Regions from separate parts of the Homo sapiens genome. Here all the other regions are linked to region 4. Evidence: promoter capture Hi-C in 16 types of primary human blood cells and fetal thymus (Javierre and others, 2016). All regions are on one chromosome and are shown on one strand. The core of a region is centred on a gene start or on the middle of the fragment in contact, and the rest is flanking DNA. Distances in the headings are between cores, read along the strand shown. Region 1 overlaps SLC16A10 (solute carrier family 16 member 10). Region 2 overlaps SLC16A10 (solute carrier family 16 member 10). Region 3 overlaps RPF2 (ribosome production factor 2 homolog). Region 4 holds the start of SLC22A16 (solute carrier family 22 member 16).

Region 1 (2,755 bases), core at 118-2,617, 750 kb after region 4:
ATATCAGTAAAATTTCTTAAGTGCTTTGTTCTGATAAACGGATGTAAAAGTAACAAAAAAGGAATAACAACTAATATGGCCTGTGGATCTGACAAAGAAAAACCTGAAGAAATTCAGAATCTAGATACACTTAGATTCTAAATTAGACACACTCAGATTCTAATGAACACTTAGAATGCTTCGCCAGTGGCTTTTCAAGTTACACTGGAAGCTTGATTATGAAAAAGTTTTGTTTTCATTGGCAAGAGGGTAGATGATCAGTGATGACAGATTGTACAGCTGTGCCCAAACCTGACAACTTACACATTAAACTCCTGTAAGAGACACTCCTTCCTAGTAGAACAAGGACTGGGACAATGAATTTTTGACTCACTGGAGTTTTTTAAAATGCTGTTCTTGAGTGTGGCAATAGTGTAGGAGTTAACCCAGTCTACCCAAAGAAGTTGCTTTGCCTTTCAATATGAGTGCTATAAAAAGAGTATTTTGGAGTTCAATGTCCCTAAACATGTATGCGATAGGAACTACCAATATAAAATAACACTTAGAACTCAAATTAGATTGGTAATACTATTTTGGAGCCTGTGATGTATGACTTTTATTCTTTACTAGATATTTTTCAGTATCCGTCATTAGAAGAGTCAGTTTGTTAAATATTTTAAATGTGTAAACACAAAACCTTTCTACTGTGATCTTCCCTAATGAGTCAAAGTATCTTTCATAATTCAGTCTATATTGAAATGTTATTTCAGGAATGGAGGGTTTGTTATTAATAGTGCTGGGCCGGGCACGGTGACTCATGCCTGTAATCCCAGCACTTTGGGAGGCCGAGACAGGCGAATCACCTGAGGTCAGATGTTGGAGACCAGCCTGACCAACATGGAGAAACCCCATCTCTACCAAAAATACAAAATTAGCCGGGCGTGGTGGCTCCATGCTGTAATCCCAGCTACTCGGGAGGCTGAGGCAGGAGAATTGCTTGAACCCAGGAGGTGGAGGTTGCAGTGAGCCAAGATTGCACCATAGCACTCCAGCCTGGGCAACAAGAGCAAAACTCTGTCTCAAAAAAAAAAAAAAAAAAAATAGTGCTGCATTTTGACCCTGGACTATGAACAGACTGTATAGTTGGTGCCTCTTTTTTTTCTACCAAAGATTATTAGATCAAGATTGGTGCTATACTTCATGTTCCTTTCAAAATTATTTTTCTTTTAAAAATATTAATATACAACACAATAGAAAATGTATACAGCCAGCAACGTTATGCATGTTGCATGTTATATACATGACTGAGGAAAAAAGCTCACCTATACAGTGATTATTGAGTTCCAGTATCTAGTTAGAGGTATGCAATTTTTGTTAACATATAAGACTTTAAATTACGAAACTCACAAGAAAATGATCACCAAATGAGAATGTTCTAATGAACACAACCTCCCAAGGTAATAATTTTAAAGAAAAAGTCCCTTGTCAATGTTTCTAGCACAAAGTGAGGGATTTAAATATATTCTGTAACTTTGAGGCAATGTGAAAAAGTTATATATAATAGCTTCCTATTGAGCTGGCTTATGTAGACATTTGGACATTTGAAACTATTTCGCAACTTTCAGGCTAAAATCAGAGTTTTGAGAGTCATCAATCTTAAAACATGGATAATGAGTTATTTGCACAGTTATATTTTTATAATTATTTGAAATTTATCACTGAAAGTATCATTGTTTGTCTTTCAGATTTAACATAAACAATAAGTACTGCGGCTGGGTCACTGTCAGCAAATCTCAGGTCTATGATTTATCAAGGGCTCTCAGCACCATCGTTGGTCTGATTGTGTAACACCTAAGTAAAATAACATATGGGTCTCCTTGGCCAGGCGCCGTGGCTCACACCTGTAATCCCAGCACTTTGGGAGGCCAAGGCAGGCGGATTGCTTGAGGCCAGGAGTTCGAGACATACGGGTCTCTTTAATGTTCTGTAGGTAGGATTCAGATGAATTGAGAATGACAGGTTTCTTTTTCTTTCTTTGTTTCTTTTTTTTTTTTTTTTTTGAGATGGAGTCTTGCTCTATTGCCAGGCTCCATATAGTGGCGCGATCTCAGCTCACTGCAACCTCCGCCTCCCGGGCTCAAGTGATTCTCGTGCCTCAGTCTTCTGAGTAGCTGGGACTACAGGTGCCCACTACCACACCGGCTAATTTTTGTATTTTTGGTAGAGATGGAGTTTCACCATGTTGGCCAGACTGGCCTTAAGTGATCCACCTGCCTCAGCCTCCCCAAGTGCTGGAATTACAGGCATGAGCCACCATGCCCGGCTAGAGAATGACAGGTTTCAGTTGAATTCTTCTCTTTTAAAAGACCCTGACTTAACTGTATTTTATGAGGATTTTATAAATGTAAATTAAGAAGACAATACACACTCTCATTTTCCTAATTAGAAAGACTATGCATTCACAATCCAGTACACTGGATTTGCTCTGGTAACTAATGATAACACTTTTCTACGTTAACATGAGTTATATTTGGCAGAGAGAATGGAAGCTTGCTAATCAGAAGTTACATTAGGGTGAGATTAAACATCACTCTAATAATAACTTCTGATGTAACTTAATGTGGTTTGAGATGTGTAAGATTGTAGAGGCATTGCACAATGCTTGATAAAAGTTGCATTTTGCTTTTGTTCTTCCACCAGTTTATTTTAGCCTTAAAGTTATAGCTACAACAAATTGAACCCTGTAGTTATTACTGAAAGAGAGTGTGGATATTTT
Region 2 (2,828 bases), core at 221-2,720, 740 kb after region 4:
CAGGATGCTGGACTCGTTCCCTTATTCACTACCTCCTCTCTCTCCTTTTTCATGGCTTCCTTGCCCCAACATCCCAAACACACAGTGTGGTTTTTGATTCTTGGCTCTTCTCTGCTGCAGTTGACTCCAGCTCTGCCTGTTTGTTCCTTCCTTTTTCTCCATCCCTGGCTCTCTGCCTTTTGGCCCATCCTTTAAGGCTTGGAATGCTCCTGGGCTTACCTTCTTTCCATTCATTGGTGGTGTGTTTTCTCAGACATACCTGCTCCCTGCTTTCATCTTTCAACTTCTTGGGGCTGTGACAACTCTTCCCTCTTTGTCCCCTGGAAGCCAGTTCTGAGTAGCAGCCAGGCCTAGAACACTGGTGACACAGACACACTTCATAGCCCTCCCGCATGGTCTAGTTTCAGATCATGGTAATCCCTAGTCTAGGAGGCTGCCGAGCCCAAGAGCACAGGCTCTGGAGTGAGAAGCCAGTTCACCCCAGTTCTACCACCAACTTGAGAATCAGCAGAGGGCTGTGGTGAGGATTCTTGGTGGCAGGTTATGTAAAGTGCCTAGCCCAGACTGGATGATTAATAAATCCTTGCATCTGTTATGTTTTAATATCTTATTAAATACTGAAAGCAGATCCTGATTTGGAATAGGTCTCAAGAAAGGAGACTAGGGTCTAATCCTGAATTAGAGTCTTTGCTTATAGGTAACAAAGAATTTATGAATTTATCTCACATTTTTGCTTAAGAGTTCTGAATTTAAACTTCCATCAAGGTCCTGGGTCCCAGGTGTTTTCAACCTAATAATTCTAAATATTGAGTGGTTGGTTGCAGTAGCTTATGCCTATAATCCCAGCGCTTTGGGAGGCCAAGGCAGAAGGATCCCTTGACCCCAGGAATGCAAGACCAGCCTGGGCAACATAGTGAGACCTCATCTCTACAAAAAATTAAAAAGTTAGCTGGACATGGTGGCCTACACCTGTAGTCCCAGCTACTTGGGAGATTGAGATGGGAAGATTGCTTGAGCTGGGGAGGTTGAGGCTGCAGTGAGCTGTGATCATGCCACTGCATACCAGTCTGGGTGGCAGAGTAAGACTTTGTCTCAAAAAAATAAAAAAATAAAAAAAAATGCTGAGTCAAGTCTACTGCTCCTGCCAGAAGAGATGACTGAAGTGCATTACGTAGAATAATAATGGTTAAAGAAAAGCTTTGCAAAAGTTCCCAGAATATATACTTTATTGGGACAGGAGAAGCTACGTGTGTCGTGGTATCTTTTTACTATTTTCTTAATCTTATAGGCCTGTGTTTCTAGTCACCATTAAATTACTACAGATTTGTGTTTTTAATGTAATATATAAGTGTTTTGGAAGGGTGAGAATATTTCAAAGGTTTGAAAGTTAAAACTGTGTATGAAAGAATTGAAAACTTGGAATTTAGATCACTTTTCCATTGTGTCATATTTCTCTGTGACATGGACATATTGAAGCATGGACATCATGTCCATGCACATAAAGCAGACAACCCAGACAACACACACATGTGCACAGGAACGCTCTGGAAGGATGCAAACCGAACTGTTAAGTGTTGATTCCTGAGGAGGTGAATGGGCATGGGTTGAGAGTGAGAAGAGGTTGTAGGAAGACTTTCATATATTACTGTGTACATTTCTCTAAGGTTTGAATTTTAAAAAATATATTCATGAGTTACTTTTGTAATGTAGAAATATTAATGACTTTCCTATCCATCAGTCTGCCTAAGCTTCCTCTTCCGGTTCAGGTAGAATGAATTGGATCAGTGTTGCTCCATTTTCCATTTTAGCATTTTACATTTGCCTAAAGATATCTTGGGATGAGGGTATATACTTTATCAAATGTAAGCTATTTCCAAAGTAGTAAATCCAAATACTTAACAACTTCCCAGCCTAAGTAAATGATCAGAGGCTCCGTACTCAGTCTCATCTAGACTGTGGCACTGGGTGTGAACGTATCAAATGCATGTTTCTCCATCAGGCAGAAGTGAGAGTAACCATGTGCCATGGAGAAGGTTGACAGACTCCCTGTGAAGCACTTCGAAGTGACACTGGCCTCTGTGTGCTTCAGAAGAATCCAGCCACCTGCTGTGTGGCCTGACATTTTCCTTTAGTTTGTGATGGGCCAGCAGAACTCTGTTGCCAACTGTTTTCTGTCCTGGGTGCCTAGCCAGAGGTTCTGAAAGTCTGGAGACTTTATATGGGCTAAACTTTAGGAACGTCAATTACATGTCTATCTCCAAGATGCCTTCTTTTATTCAGGTGCAGCTCATTGTTTCCTCTTGAGCTACACTTAAGATTCTTGAGCAAAACCTAAACTGACATTTCTCCAGCAATGCTCTCCTTGAGATAGAAATGGGAAAAGTAAGAGCAAAAGGAATCTTTTGTTCTCATGTGCATACACTAACTCATAGAAGGTTAATACTTCTATAGCCTGTACTATTATAACAAGTATTATATATTTATGATATATTTCCTTAAAGAAAACAAAAGCAATATAGACATCTAAACTGTCACTGGCTTATTAAGTGTCAGTGCCAGAGCCTAGGAGAAAATAAGGAGCCTGTGAATTCCTTACTCGAATCTAACCAGAGCTGCTGTGTTTGAGAGCAAGTTTTAAAAGATTGTATGTAATACTAAGTTTATTCATCTTTCACACTGAGTCCCAGCATCACCAGATCAGTATTTGATGCCTGGATCAATCTTTATTCTGGGGAGTGATGAAGCATTGAACCTGCTATATGTATAGTTTGCCGAGCGTCGGCATGTGCTCCTTGTGGCCCAGGCATCCCTGCATATAAGGAATAGGT
Region 3 (2,830 bases), core at 257-2,756, 550 kb after region 4:
ACTGTTGTTTTCAGCAAAAGAAAGAGAGTTGTTTGGTACACTGTAAAGGCTAAGGATTTAGAGTACAGGGTATATAAACCATATGTGCATAAAATGTGTTTTGACTTTTTAAGTAGTTTTAAAAGACAAGAAGAAATGTAATCTCTAAAATGCCAATAGAAATTGAAACAATAGTCACAACTTCTTAAGCTAAACACAGGCTATTTTCTTGATGTGTGACAGTGGTTAGTGTAGTTTATAGTTTTGTTTTTCAAAGTGTGGCCTGACAGTTTACCTGGGAATTGTGCAGAATATCAGGCCCTACCCTAGACATACTGAATTAGGATCTGTATTTTAGCAAGATCCCAAGTGATTTGTATGCACACTTAAGTTTGAGAAGAAAAGTGTATAGGGCTATATACTGTGTCACTGAAGGGGCAGGCACTAATGGAAATTGCTACTAAGATAGTTGTTACAGACTAGATTTTTACTGGCTCATTATAGTAGAAGGCCATTAAATATATACATATTCTTTTATCGTAGCCAAAGAAGAAGAAAAATATTTCCCATGATACTTTTGGTACAACTTATGGAAGGATTCATATGCAGAAGCAAGACCTAAGCAAACTACAAACCAGGAAAATGAAGGGGTTGAAGAAGCGACCTGCAGAAAGGATAACAGAAGACCACGAGAAAAAGTCAAAAAGAATTAAAAAAAATTGATGGAACTTAGCCAGCCACTACTGTTTCATTGTGTTCTACTTAAGAGAATTATCAAGCGTCAATCCATTCAGAGTTTCTTATAAGATCTTATTATATATTTTTATAACATGATAATTTTACGATATATTATTATGAACAGTAATATACTAGTATTAAGTGTAAAGTAAGCCTTTTATTTGAGACATTACACCCTGGTGTGCCATTTTCTCTTGTGATATCCCCTGCCCTCCACAAATTCTTCTTTCTCATTGGGTGGATGGATGGGTGAGGAGGGATCTCCATAACCATTGGGATTTTTTTGAATTTCTGGCCTTAGCTAAAGAAAGCCACAGAAAGCCGGACCCGCAGGAGCTGTGTAAACAATCTCAGTATGAATTACCTGGAAAGTTAACCTCCTCTCCCAACATGGATCTACATTCTGATTTTTATTTTCTACTTTTATTTTGCCTGAAATCCTACTCGTTGACATTTGAGATTTTAAGCTTTGTGGCTGAAAATATATAGATCTCTGAGAGGGATGTCTGCTATCTGATTATTGATAAATTACACTACTGTTGATTGTTTTAAGAGACTCTACTACTAAGTAGAGCCCACCCCGCTTCTCTGAGACGAAACCTGTGTTTTTTGGTTGGTTTGTTTTTAAGAGATGGGGTCTTGTTCTGTCACCTAGGGTGGAGTGCAGTGGCACAATCACAGCTCACTGCAGCCCTGAACTCCTGGGCTCAAGTAATCCTCCTGCCTGAGCCTCTTACGTAGCTGGGATTACAGGCATGAGCCACTGAGCCCTACTTTTTTTTTTTAAAGCAATGAGGTCTTGCTGTGTTGCCCAGGCTGGACTCAAATTCCTGGGCTCAAGTGATCCTCCCACTTCACCTTCCTGAGCAGCCGGAACTACAGATGTTGGTCCACTGCACCTGGCAGAAAAGAAGTTTTGATAGGGGCAGAAATGAAAAAGGAGAAAACAGGTGAGTTTTAAGGTGCAGGGCACTTTAGGGTACTGGGTAGCCCTAGGTAGCTAAAGGTTGCATGAAGGCCCTGGGCGTTTGCAGATGGTGTAGAAGCCAGCCAAAGCCTAACTACTTGTTTTGAAAGTTTCTTGAAGACAGGCCTTGTGCCTAGGAAAACAGAAGCTTTCTTCTTCCTTCTACTAGTATTGCATACTTGTTTTTCTGGAATAGGGTGTTAAGTTCCTTGATTCAGTCCTTGACAAGGAATCTCCTTTATACAAGTGCCAGTAATGTTGTAAAGGTACAGACATACGCAAATCATAATTTGTTACATGAAGTACCAGTGCTTTCTTTTTTGTTGTTTTTTGAGACAGAGTCTCGCTCTGTCGCTCAGGCTGGAGTGCAGTGGCGCGATTTCAGTTCACTGCAACCTCCACCTCCCAGGTTCAAGCATTCTTCTGCCTCAGCCTCCCGAGTAGCTGGGATTACAGGCACCCACCACCACGCCTGGCTGATTTTTTGTAGAGACAGGGTTTCACTTCAATTCCATGTTAGAGAGCTCCGTGCCTGTGTATACATGCCTTTATGTAAGCTTGCTCAGCTACAGATCAACAATGCTGGCACTAAGCAAAAGTTCGAGCCTCAGCTTTACCTTCTACCCTTTCCCTTCTCTTTTGAATCCATTCCTTAGCTTTCCCTAGTCCTCTCCGGATAGCTGTTACTCTCCTCTTGCCAGAAAAATGAAGGAGCTGGTATCATTTATACTTTTTGTTTGATTATACGTTTAACCAAAGACCATACAGTCTCGTACCTGAATCAGACATTTGCACTTTATATCTAAATGAGAAGAAGGGGCTCAGATAAGTCGTTTGCTGCCATCTGGAGGTAGATGGACAATAGCTGAGAAGGGGAGCCATGAAAAGAACATCAGGAGTGATGGACGCATAGTCCTTCCCCAAAGCCTCGCTCATCACTGGTAGGAGGCAAAGCAGTGGGTCCTCCTCACCAGCCGCTTACGGGACCCTGCCATGCCTGGACCCCTCTATCAGGAAGACCTACCCCAGCACTACTGGAAAATCAGCCAATCTTAACCCAAAGATGGCCATGATTTCTGTATGTGAGACGTCTTAAGGGTGTTTTTGTTTGTTTTAATCAGCCCTCTTGTTTGAGATTTGGCAATA
Region 4 (2,700 bases), core at 153-2,652:
GTCACCTAACCGTGCTCAGGAGTGCATCATGGTTGAGAGTGTGGGCTGTGGAGGTGATGGGCATCCAATGGCATCCAATTCTGCCCTGCTAGTATTAGATTTGTGCTTAGGCAGAAACCTTGGTTTTCTCATCTGTGAAAAGAGGGTGATACTACCAACCTTATAAGGCTGTAGTGAAGATTAAAGGAAGTAACATGTACCAACGGCTTATGACCGAGCCAGGCACAAGGCAGCGTTCAATGATGCAAGCAGAGGAAGAAGGGAACAGCTGGGGCTTCCTGCCCGTTTCCTCTGTCCTAACAGCTCCTTTTTGCAGACACTGGGAATCAAAACCAAAACGCATGCAACCTTCCACCTTGAAGAACAGCACCACATCATCTCTTTGCTAAGCCTGATTCCCGTTTTCTGGATAGGAAACTGACACACAAAGTATCTCCAGAATCATATCAGAGGTAAGTAGCAGGCCAGGATCGAGACGCAGCTCCAAATCTCCGGCCATAACGCTGCATGGCCCCTCACCCGGCTACCTCCCCTCTCAAAACACTCTGAGTCAGATAGAGGAGCTCTGTCCATGAGTGAACGAACGAATGAATAATTTAAATTTTTTAAATCAATTTGACAAATGAAAAGAGGGTGTACGGAGGTTAAACGTGGTTCCACCATGCGTTGGCTATGAGTCCTTGACCCCGCCAGCTTGTTTCCCAATCACTAAAATAAGGATTTGAACACCTCCTTTGCAGGGTCCCGGTGAACATCAAATGAAGAACTATGTGTAAGCGCCAGGTACAGTGTACCTGGCACGTATTAGGTTTTAATAAACGGCAACCAACTCTGACTAACGGTTGTCCCTGGGGAACACCTGCCAGGCACAGAGGGAGGCCCTACGGAGGCGCAGGGCAGAACTGGGCAGCAGCCGTCTAGGGAAGTGGCGGCGGATTAGAGAAACGGGCGGCCAGGCACAGGCACCCCCTACGAGTGAGATCTGGCCCCTCGAGCCAGATCTCCAGCCAGATGCCTCCAGCATCTGCTGCCGCGGAGAGCACGCACCAGGTCCCTCCTGCCCGGCAACAGGCGCACTCCGAGCGAGCCCAGCGCCTCTGCTCACCATGCCAGGTCCCGCTGCCAGAGGCCTAGAGGAGAAGCCCAGCTAGGGGCCGGCGTCTGGACGCCCGTGTCCCGACTGCGCGGGGTGAGGAGGAAGTGGAGATGTTTTCGGATCGCGAGCGCCGCGCGAGAACCCCGCCGCAACGGAAAGAAACAGACCCCTCGGCGCCGCCTCCCGCGTGGCGCCGCGGGGCCCCTCCCCCATACCTGCCGAAGTGCCCCACGTGGTCATAAATCCCCTCGAAGTGGCGGGACCCCATGGTGCGGCCGTGCACTGGGCGCCGAGTTAGCCGAGCTCCGGGGACTGCGGGTAGCGCGCCCCGCCCCGAACCTCCCCGCCCGGCCTCCTGCTCTCCCCGCGCGTCCCAGTGCTCGGGACCAGCGCGAGGCTGTATTCTGTTCCTCCCTCCGTCGCTTGGCCCCTCGGTCCCCCCAAGTATCTTCGGCTTTTTTCCTGCCGCCTCGGCCTCCTTCCCGGCGCGCTGTGGTCCCGGCGCCCGCGGTCGCATGGTGCCCTCGCCCCCAGCGCCGCCGCTCTCCCACCCGCCCCGCCGCCCACCCTGGCTCTTGGCACCATGTCTGCGGGGTCGCCACGCTCGAGGGAAGCCCCGACGCCTGGGAAAAGTTGTCGCTGAGAGAGAGCCCAGGGTGGGAATGCAAGGGCTAGGCTCGGTCCGGGGGCCGCAAGAATATATAGCCTTCAGCATGACGCCCCTCAGAAACATGGCTCTCAAACTTTAATGCCTAAGAATCTACTGCAGAACTTGGTTTAAAAGGTACATTTAAGGCCGGGCGCACTTGCTCACGCCTGTAATCCCAGCACTTTGGGAGGCCGAGGCGGGCGGATCACCTGAGGTCGGGAGTTCAAGACTAGCCTGACCAACATGGAGAAACCCCGTCTCCACTAAAAATACAAAATTAGCCGGGCGTGGTGGCACATGCCTGTAATCCCAGCTACTCGGGAGGCTGAGGCAGAAGAATCGCTTGAACCCTGGAGACGGAGGTTGCGGTGAGCCAAGATCGTGCCATTGCACTCCAGCCTGAGGAACAAGAGTGAAACTCCGTCTCAAAAAAATAAAAGTACAATTAGGCCGGCGTGGTGGCTCAGGCCTATAATCCCAGTGCTTTGGGAGGCCGAGGCAGGAGGATTGCTGGAGCCAAGGAGTTTGAGACCAGCCTGGGCAACGTATAGCGACACCTCGTCTATACAAAAATAAAAAATAAATAAATGTACATTTATTTTGAGACTCCATCCCTGATGATTCAGGATGCCTGGGGAACAGGAATCTGATTTTTTTTTTTTTTTTTTTTTTTTTTTTTTTTTTTTTTTTTGAGACGGAGTCTCGCTCTGTCGCCCAGGCTGGAGTGCAGTGGTGCAATCTCGGCTCACTGCAAGCTCCACCTCCCGGGTTCAAACCATTCTCCTGCCTCAGCCTCCCAAGTAGCGGGGAGGTGCCCGCCACCACGTCCGGCTAATATTTTGTATTTTTAGTAGAGACGGGGTTTCACCGTGTTAGCCAGGATGATTTCGATTTCCTGACGTCGTGATCCGACCGCCTTGGCCTCCCGAAATCTGATTTTTAATAAGCAGACCAT

What was found. The method cuts DNA at HindIII sites, captures the fragments that hold promoters and counts their contacts. A CHiCAGO score of 5 or more calls a contact.
Region 1: a contact is called between a fragment that was not itself captured here and the fragment with the promoter of SLC22A16 in region 4, in 1 of 17 cell types (M2 macrophages). The highest score is 7.3, in M2 macrophages.
Region 2: a fragment that was not itself captured here is called in contact with the fragment with the promoter of SLC22A16 in region 4 in 1 of 17 cell types (endothelial precursors); the score reaches 6.8 in endothelial precursors.
Region 3: a contact is called between a fragment that was not itself captured here and the fragment with the promoter of SLC22A16 in region 4, in 1 of 17 cell types (endothelial precursors). The highest score is 5.0, in endothelial precursors.

What each region holds. Positions count from the first base shown.
Region 1 is chr6:111,227,970-111,230,724 of GRCh38, forward strand. SLC16A10 (solute carrier family 16 member 10) reads left to right here. Exons shown (of 6, transcript NM_018593.5): 6 at 1-2,755. All of the region lies in intron 2 of SLC60A2-DT (SLC60A2 divergent transcript), which reads right to left. Among named protein-coding and RNA genes, the nearest start is that of SLC60A2-DT, 30 kb to the right of the region's middle. The HindIII fragment of the contact is 2,317 bases long and covers 210-2,526 here.
Region 2 is chr6:111,211,699-111,214,526 of GRCh38, forward strand. The region is part of intron 4 of SLC16A10 (solute carrier family 16 member 10); the gene reads left to right. Among named protein-coding and RNA genes, the nearest start is that of SLC60A2-DT, 46 kb to the right of the region's middle. The HindIII fragment of the contact is 551 bases long and covers 1,196-1,746 here.
Region 3 is chr6:111,024,881-111,027,710 of GRCh38, forward strand. It overlaps RPF2 (ribosome production factor 2 homolog), which reads left to right. Exons shown (of 10, transcript NM_032194.3): 10 at 523-2,830. The coding sequence ends at 702. Among named protein-coding and RNA genes, the nearest start is that of RPF2, 44 kb to the left of the region's middle. The HindIII fragment of the contact is 648 bases long and covers 1,183-1,830 here.
Region 4 is chr6:110,475,211-110,477,910 of GRCh38, forward strand. It overlaps SLC22A16 (solute carrier family 22 member 16), which reads right to left and starts at 1,403. Exons shown (of 8, transcript NM_033125.4): 1 at 1,312-1,403. The coding sequence starts at 1,364. LOC105377938 (a long non-coding RNA gene) reads left to right here and starts at 307. Exons shown (of 2, transcript XR_942860.3): 1 at 307-452. The HindIII fragment of the contact is 6,876 bases long and covers 1-2,700 here.